2 separate regions of the Homo sapiens genome follow, and region 1 is linked to region 2. The links are contacts of gene promoters, found by promoter capture Hi-C in human tissues and cell types (Jung and others, 2019). All regions are on one chromosome and are shown on one strand. Each heading gives the region's core, a stretch centred on a gene start or on the middle of the fragment in contact. The rest is flanking DNA. Distances are from core to core; before and after follow the strand shown. Region 1 overlaps STAT5B (signal transducer and activator of transcription 5B). Region 2 holds the start of KCNH4 (potassium voltage-gated channel subfamily H member 4).

Region 1 (4,336 bases), core at 1,790-4,289, 74 kb before region 2:
TAATGGTCTTTTTAAAGGATACCTGATTTCAGAAGGAACCTTTGAAGAAATGGCTAGAACTTCTGTGTTTCTTTGGATATTGCCTGACATCTAAGCCAAATTAGTTGACCTTTTAATGTTAAATAAAATATTCAATAACTTTTACTAATGGGTGGGCTTTAGGAACCCCTTTATTTTACTATGTTGCCAAAAGTAGGTTCATTATAACATTGGAAACATCCTGATGTAATTTATTGAATGTAAAATTATTCCTCAATACATTTGAGGATGATTTCCATAAAGGGAAACAAATTCCTTTCTTCCAAATATACTGTGACAGCCTATTTTGAAATATTTAAAATATGTCCCTAAAGATGAAAATTAAAGAGCGGACACAAAGTTGTTATGCTCTAAGGAGTCATTCTTTTGATTTAAAATTCATTATAATTCCCTGGTTGTCTAGTGGTTAGGATTCAGCACTCTCATAAAATTCATTATATTGATTCTATAAAAGTATATTGTGTTGGATTAAGAAACACATGGACATTTTTAAGTGTTTCAAAATATTTTTGTTATACCTAGGTTTTCACTGTGGTGGTATTTGTTGTTTTAGTAGAATTTGACCTATATTTTATTCTATGGGAAAAAGAAGAAAGTAAACATTGGCTAGCTATCTACCACCCTGTACTGCTATTTGTGTGTGGTCCCATTGTGAATTTTTAACTCCATGCTCTATATTTTTAGTGCTTTGTGAAGATTGAATCTGCAAATCACCTTTGAAAGACAAAGGATTTGATTTGATTGTGGCAATCATGAAAGTTATCCTGTAAATAAAACTGTATGTCCTGGACCAAAGCTGGAATAATGCCACACTGAAATGATCTTAACTGTGGAATCCTTGATTGGACCCGATTTGTTTTGCACATACAATAGCTCCATAAAGATGATAGGCTTTCAGCAGGGATGAACAGATGTTCTGGTTTTATCAGAAATTGCTTTTGCATCACCAAGACTTCACAAAAGCCAGTAATCCCCCTGTTTGATGTTGTGGAGGTGCTTTTAAAACTTCTTCCCAGATACTGGTTTGAACACACAGACTTTGTCATTGACCTGTAAGATTCAATTGTCAGGTGGTATCTGTTTTCTCCCAACAGAAATAAAGAGAAGAAGAATAAAAACAAAAACTAGAAAGTGTAGCAGGGGCACAATTATTTATTTAAACTTTAAAGTATTTAATATTACATACCAGAATCTAAGTTACATAAAGCATGTCTGTTTTGTTCACTGCCACATTCTTAGTACCTAGAACAGAGCCCAACATGTAATAGTTACTCAATAAGTATCTGTTAAATAAGTATAGTAGTCCTGCCTTATCCCAAGGGATGCCTGAAACCTCAGGTAATACTGAACCCTACATATATATATTGTTTTTTCCTATGCATATATAATTATGATAAAGTTCAATTTATAAATTAGGCACAGTAAGAGATTAAGAACAATGATAATAAAATAGAACAAGTATGTAGTCTTTTTTTTTTTTTTTTTTTTTTTTTTTGAGACAGAGTCTCGCTCTGTCACCCAGGCTGGAGTGCAGTGGCGCAATCTCCGTTCACTGCACGCTCTGCTTCCTGGGTTCATGCCATTCTCCTGCCTCAGCCTCCCCAGTAGCTGGGACTACAGGCATCTGCCACCACACCCGGCTAATTTTTTGTATTTTGTTTAGTAGAGACGGGGTTTCACCATGTTAGCCAGGATGGTCTCGATCTCCTAACCTCGTGACCTGCTCGCCTCAGCCTCCCAAAATGCTGGGATTACAGGCGTGAGCCACTGTGCCTGGCCGAATGTAGTCTATCTTAAAATACTGTATCTTACTATGCTGTACTGTGGGTAACAGAAACCATAGAAAACAAAATCTCAGATAAGGAAAGACTATTGTATTCCCCTTTAATCTCAATACAGCAGGTGTATCCAGAGAACTTCAACCCTCAGAAGGACTGAAAGTGTGCCTTTTACTGTGGAAGAAAGAAAAGAGAGGGGGCTGGGTGCAGTGGCTCATGCCTATAATCCCAGTACTATGGGAGGCTGAGCCAGGAGGGTCACTTGAGCCCATGAGTTAGAGACCAGCCTGGGCCACAGAGTGAGACGCTGTCTCAAAAAAAGTTGGGGGGATGGGGGAGAAGAGAGAGGAGACAGCAAATATCTCTTTGTTTCCTTTGGATTTCAGCATTAAAGATAGAAAAAATGTGAGTTTATTAGGCAAAAACTGGTTTTTTAACCCCATTTTAAAGATTGTGGAGTTACGTATATATATCATAAAATTTACCATTTTTAACCTTTTATTTTGAGATGGAGTTTCTCTGTGTCACCCAGGCTGGAGGTTAGCTCATTGCAACCTTCACCTCCTGGATTCAAGCAATTCTCCTGCCTCAGCCTCCTGAGTAGCTGGGATTACAGGTGCACGCCACCATGCCTGGCTAATTTTGGTATTTTTAGTAGAGGTGGGGTTTCACCATGTTAACCAGGGTGGTCTGGAACTCCTGACCTTAGGTGAACCGCCCTCGGCCTCCCAAAGTGCTGGGATTACAGGCGCGAGCCGCTGTGCCCGGCCATTTTCACTGTTTTAAAGTACAGTTCCGTGGCATTAAGCACATTCACATTGTTGTGTGACCGTCAGCACCTGGTCCATCTCCAGAATTTTTTCATCCTAAACTAAAATCCTGTATTCATTAAACAGTAATGAGAATAAAACTCTCCATTTGCCCCTCCCCGCAGGCTCTGACAACCGCCATTCATTCTTTCTGTCTCTATGAGTTTGACTACTCCAGGCATCTTATATCAGTGGAATCATACACTATCTGCCCCTTTGTGTTTATTCCTTTTTTTGCAACATAATTCTTTTGGTTGGAGACTTCACAGTTTTTCTTTCCTTTGATTGTTTAGTTTTTGCTTTGTACCTAGACCTGGCCAGTGATGCATGTGCAATGAGTATGCAAAGACAAGTTAATTCAGCAGCTTGTTGCATACCACTAGGGAGTTATTAAAGCTTTCAAAATGTGATTCCTCATCTGTATGCCTGTGGCTTATCTACTCCAAGTCTTGCTGATAAACCTGCACTGAGAGTAATAGCAAAGATTAGTCTTTCTCCATGTTTCATAAAACAAATTGTTCTCATTCTTACAGCCTGATTATGAACTGGAAAATTACAGGTACATTGTTGTAATTGTTTATACAGACAATGAGACATACTCTCCACAGGGGACCTCAGCTGCAGGGGAGGTTCTGATTGCGTGTCATTAAGAAACGACAGTTAAGAAACTTTTTTTTTTTTAGACGGAGTCTCGCTCCATTGCCAGGCTGGAGTGCAGTGGCACGATCTCGGCTCCCTGCAACCTCTGCCTCCTGGGTTCAAGTGGTTCTCCTGCCTCAGCCTCCCAAGTAGCTGGGACTACAGGCGCATGCCACCACACCCAGCTAATTTTTGTATTTTTTGTAGAGACAGGGTTTCACCATGTTGGCCAGGATGGTCTCAATCTCCTGACCTCGTGATCCGCCTGCCTAGGCCTCCCAAAGTGTTGGGATTACAGGCATGAGCCACCGCACCGACCTTCTTTTTTTTTCCATTTTTAAAAATTTTCTATTCTCATTACATCTTCCTTTCTCCCTACTTTTCCTTCCCTTCCCTTCCAGTTTGTCCTTCCCTCTCTCTCTTTCTTCCTTTTTTCTTTCTTTTTCATTCTCATTTTTCTGAGTAGTTGCTGAAGACACAGCCTGACCCTAGGGGTCCAAATATAGATGAAACAATCATAGCTCTCTAGCAGTTCACCTGGAGGGAGAGAGAAAAAGAGAGTAAGAGAACCAAAATGAAGGGGAAATATTCTTAATTTTTTTTTTTTTAAGGACAGAAACTAACTTGTTGAGGAAAAAGAGAAATATACTGGGAGTTCTGACTGATAGGAACAAAGAGAGGACAGCTTCGAAGGATGATTTGAAAAGTAATCTATGGAATTTAGCTTTAAAGCAGGATCTTGGGCTGTAGACTACTTTATTATTATTATTTTTTAAGAGACAGAGTGCAGTGGTGCAGTCATGGCTCACTGTAGCCTCAAACTCCTGGGCTCAAGCCATCCTCCCACCTCAGCCTTCTGAGTAGCTAGGATTACAGGTACATACCAGCACGCCTGGCTAATTTTTTAATTTTTATTTTGTAGAGATGAGGTCTTGCTGTGTTGCCCAGGCTGGTCTTGAACTCCTGGCCTCAAGTGATCCTCCTGCCTCAGCATCCCAAAGTGCTGGGATGTTGTGGACTCCTTTAGAGCCTCTTGAAATAGGGCTAGTAAAGTGATTTTCTACCACTGTA
Region 2 (3,992 bases), core at 444-2,943:
ATAGGGGAGAGGCATGCAACAGATTCTCCCTCATAGCCTTCAGAAGGAACCAACGCTCTTCACCTGACCTTGCTTGGACTTCTAGCATCCAGAACTGTGAGACAATAGGTTTCTGTTGTTTGAGCCACTCACTTTGTGGTACTTTGTTATGGCAGTCCTAGGAAACTAATATAACATCCAAAAGTAGAGACACAGGCTAGGCTCCGTGGCTCATGCCTGTAATCCCAGCACTTTGGGAGGCTGAGGCGGGCGGATCACTTGAGGTCAGGAGTTCAAGACCAGCCTGGCAAACATGGCGAAACCCCATCTCTACTAAAAATACAAAAATTAGCCGGGCATTGTAATGCACGCCTGTGATCCCAGCTACTAAGGAGGCTGAGGCGGGAGAATTGCTTGAACCCAGGAGGCAGAGGTTGCAGTGAGCTGAGGTCATGCCACTGCACTCCAGCCTGGGCAACAGAGCAAGACTCCGTCTCAAAAACAACAAGAACAAGAACAACAAGAACAACAACAACAACAAAAGTAGAGACACAGAAAAATGTGGCACTTCTTAGCAATCTAACATCCCAGATAATACCTAGCTCAGAGGGTGGGGAGAATTTAGCCTGCCCTCCTTGCCCATAGGGTTCCCACTTTCACTGCTTCAGCTGTTTTGTCGTGGGAAGCAGCCACCCTCAGCCACAGAACTCAGCTGCCTCAATTTTCTGCATAGGTAGTGAGAAAGTCCTGTGTCTAGTCTCACTTTGGTCCCTCTTGCTGCTGTACTGGTTCCATCTTGGAGAAGTTAGAGGTCAAAGTTCACATGTGCATCCTTGGAGATTTGCAAGCCATGACTCTGCCCACCTCGAAACTATCTTTTTCAGAGGTAGTTTCTCCCAAACTTGCCTCCAGCCTCTCTTCCACTTGAAGGGCAGCAGAGAGGAGGATTAAGACAGTAGGAAGAGGGAAAACAGGCAGGCAACTGCCCTTCAAGACACTTATTTTGTACCAAAGACATGCATTATGGTATTACATTCTCACGGTAACTGCATCAGGTAAGAATTATCAGCTCCATTTTACAGATGAGGAAAGTGGGCTTGGAGAGGATATCACACGATTGGTGTCTAGAGCTGGGACTCTACCTGGTGGACTCCAAAGCTCTTTTCATTCCACCATGCTGTGTCTCAGTAGGCAGAGTTCGCCAGGGTGTCTTGGGAAAACTGAGGCAGGAGGTAAGAATGGTGCTTTCTAGAGTTGGGGTTTCAAGCCTTCCCATTGTCCATTCTCTACCAGCAAACTAGCCTCTTAACCCTTGCTGTCTCACGCTGGAGCTACTGGCCTGTGGGTGCTGCGAAATATGTCAACTCCAGTAGGCGGCACTGTGAACCAGACACCAGCCCAGCGTGGACGCCGCGCGGGAAAACCCGCGAGGTGGAGCCACAAGGAGCAGCCAGGGAACCACGTGTGGAGGCGTGGCCAGCCTGGAAGAGGGCGGGTCTGTTATTCAAGCCCCGCCCATCATTTCAGGCCTCCCCTCCCGGTGGGCGTGCCCCGAATTCTCTCCCCGAGAGACACGCGTGGGCCGCTCCCCTCTGGGAGGAGGGCTGCCCAGAGGGGTGCGGGTGTCGCTAGCGGCCCCTCCCCGTGTGGGGCCACGTGGCGGGTGCGGGCCGAGCCCGAGGGGAAGAACCTGGCCCGTGGGGAGGTGGGGGGGACCGAAACGGCGCTGAGCCGAGCCGAGAGCTACGGGGTTCGGAGCAGAGGCAGCGGCAGCGGCAGCGGCAGTAAGAGGGAGGGGAGGAGGCAGGAGGGCGCATGGGGCGCCCCGGCCCCTCCGACAGCGCGCCCCCTCCGGCCCGGCCGCGCTGAAAGCTCCCCAGCGCCGCGCCTTGAACCCACGCCCCGGGGCCATGCCGGTCATGAAGGGGTTGCTGGCCCCGCAAAACACCTTCCTGGACACCATCGCCACCCGTTTTGACGGAACGCGTGAGTGGGACGGAGGTCGGGGCTTGAGGTTCGAGCTGGGGGGCAAGTATCCTCGGGGCCGTCTCGGATCTCCTGGACATGGTGAGACCCGAGGCGAGGGGAGAGAATGGAGGTGCGGGTCTAGGAACTCCCAAAGCCGCGGTGCAGGAACAGGGCGGGGAGTGCCCTGCGAGGGGAGGAGGGGAAAGGGCCGAGAGCACGGGGGCCAAGGTTAGGGGGTGTGACTCGAGGCAGAAGAGGCTCTTTGTGCGGCAGAGCGGAGGAGGGTCCTTCGGAGCCGCCCACTCTCGGGCAGAGCTGTGCTGGGGGCGTGTATGGGGGTATCCGAGACACAGAAGTGGGGCAAAGTGGCCGGGCATTCTGGGGTCTACTCACAGACTCCAGCTCCCACTACCTCCAGAAAAAAAGGAGAAAAGATCAGACTTCAGCAGGACCTAGTTTGGATTGAGGTCGCGCGCCCCCAAATCGTGGGGCGTCAGTGTCTAAGGTGGGTGAGGCAGGAGGAGGGGAGCGGTCTGTGCGACGGTGGGAACTCCCAGCTCGCCCAACGTAGCTTGGGTTTCAGGTTCAGCACCTTGGACAGCCACATCACTCCTCCCCCGCCTCTTCTCCCGCCATTCCCTCTTCCCACTCTGGAACCCAGAGATTCCCCGCCCTCACCTCCCCCAACCCCGCCATTCCCTCGGGAACCCTGGCCGGGATCTGGATGGTGGGGGAGCGGTACCCGAGGGCGGAAACTGAGCCGCCGGGCCCTACCCTCTTCCCCACCACCTTGTTTCCATAGCGCCCATCACCGGGGCAACAGGCCCTGGGATGGAAGAAGGAGGCTGTGCCCAGAGCCCAGTGCCTCCCAGGCACCTTCAGTGTCCCCATCAGCCTCCCTGCCCCCAGACAGTCATCCCTCCTAGAGCACCAGGACTGGTTGTGTCACAGGCCCCATCTCTTAGCTGAGTCTCTGTCCCTGGATGGCCCACAGGAGTCCCCCTGGCCTCCCACCCATTGGAGCTGGAGGGAGACAGCTCGGGTTCTGCTGCTGGGGGTTGCTGGAGCTATACGCTCAATGCCCTCTCCCATTAGACTTTGAGCAGTGGGGCAGATCCCCTGAAAGCAGCTACAAGAATGCTAAAAAGTGGACCTTCTCTGGAAGGCAGGGAAGGAAGACAGCACTCATCACTGTCTGCCCCCACACTAAGGAGATCTGTGAGTTTGGATAATCTCTGCCTTTTGGTTTCCTATCAATAAATGGGTGTGGTGTCATCAGAATCTCTGCCCTGCTTACTCTGTAATAGGAAGAAAGCCAAGTGAATGTGGGGAAAAAATTTCACCTTCTCAGAGTAGCACTTACCATGTGCTAGGACTTGTTCTCCCCAAGTTAACTCATGTAACTCTCACAACGACCATGTGAGGAAGGCCTATTATGCCCTACTTTGCAAATAAGGAAAGCTTAGGCACAGAAGAGGTCATCAACTTGCCCAAGGTCACACAGTTAGTAAGTGGCAGTGGAGGGTTGCAGGAGCCCAGGCTCTTACTCACCATGCTATACTGCCTTCTACAGTGACAGCTCACCAGTTGGAAGGCAGGGGGATGGATGGCATGACCTCCTGGGGTCCTTCTCCAACTCCCCGTTAGACCCTGCTTAAGTCCTGTCTCAAGTCCTTGTCTCTTTGCTCCAACTTCTCCAATTCTCAATTCAGAATATCCCAAAGTGGGGTCAGGAGCAACATGGAAACCTGGGAAGCTTCTGGCTCTGTGACTTCTAACCCCAACTTAGAGGAAGTGCTGCCCACCTGGAAGCTAGCTCGCCTCCCAGCCTTGACCTGACCTTGACCTCTTCTTCCCACAGACAGCAACTTCCTGCTGGCCAACGCACAGGGCACACGGGGCTTTCCCATCGTCTACTGCTCCGACGGCTTCTGCGAGCTCACAGGCTACGGTCGCACCGAGGTCATGCAGAAGACCTGCAGCTGCCGTTTCCTCTACGGCCCAGAGACCAGTGAGCCAGCCCTGCAGCGTCTGCACAAAGCCCT

What was found. Contacts are between HindIII fragments. The study calls those that stand out against the background at their distance.
Region 1: a fragment that was not itself captured here is called in contact with the fragment with the promoter of KCNH4 in region 2 in 3 of the 25 tissues and cell types used here (IMR-90 fibroblasts, bladder and hippocampus).

Annotation. Positions count from the first base shown.
Region 1 is chr17:42,254,060-42,258,395 of GRCh38, reverse strand. All of the region lies in intron 1 of STAT5B (signal transducer and activator of transcription 5B), which reads left to right. Among named protein-coding and RNA genes, the nearest start is that of STAT5B, 20 kb to the left of the region's middle. The HindIII fragment of the contact is 4,124 bases long and covers 978-4,336 here.
Region 2 is chr17:42,178,843-42,182,834 of GRCh38, reverse strand. KCNH4 (potassium voltage-gated channel subfamily H member 4) reads left to right here and starts at 1,693. Exons shown (of 17, transcript NM_012285.3): 1 at 1,693-1,965; 2 at 3,809-3,992. The coding sequence starts at 1,890. RefSeq lists silencers at 1,262-1,537, 1,544-1,783 and enhancers at 2,733-3,300, 3,951-3,992. The HindIII fragment of the contact is 13,187 bases long and covers 1-3,992 here.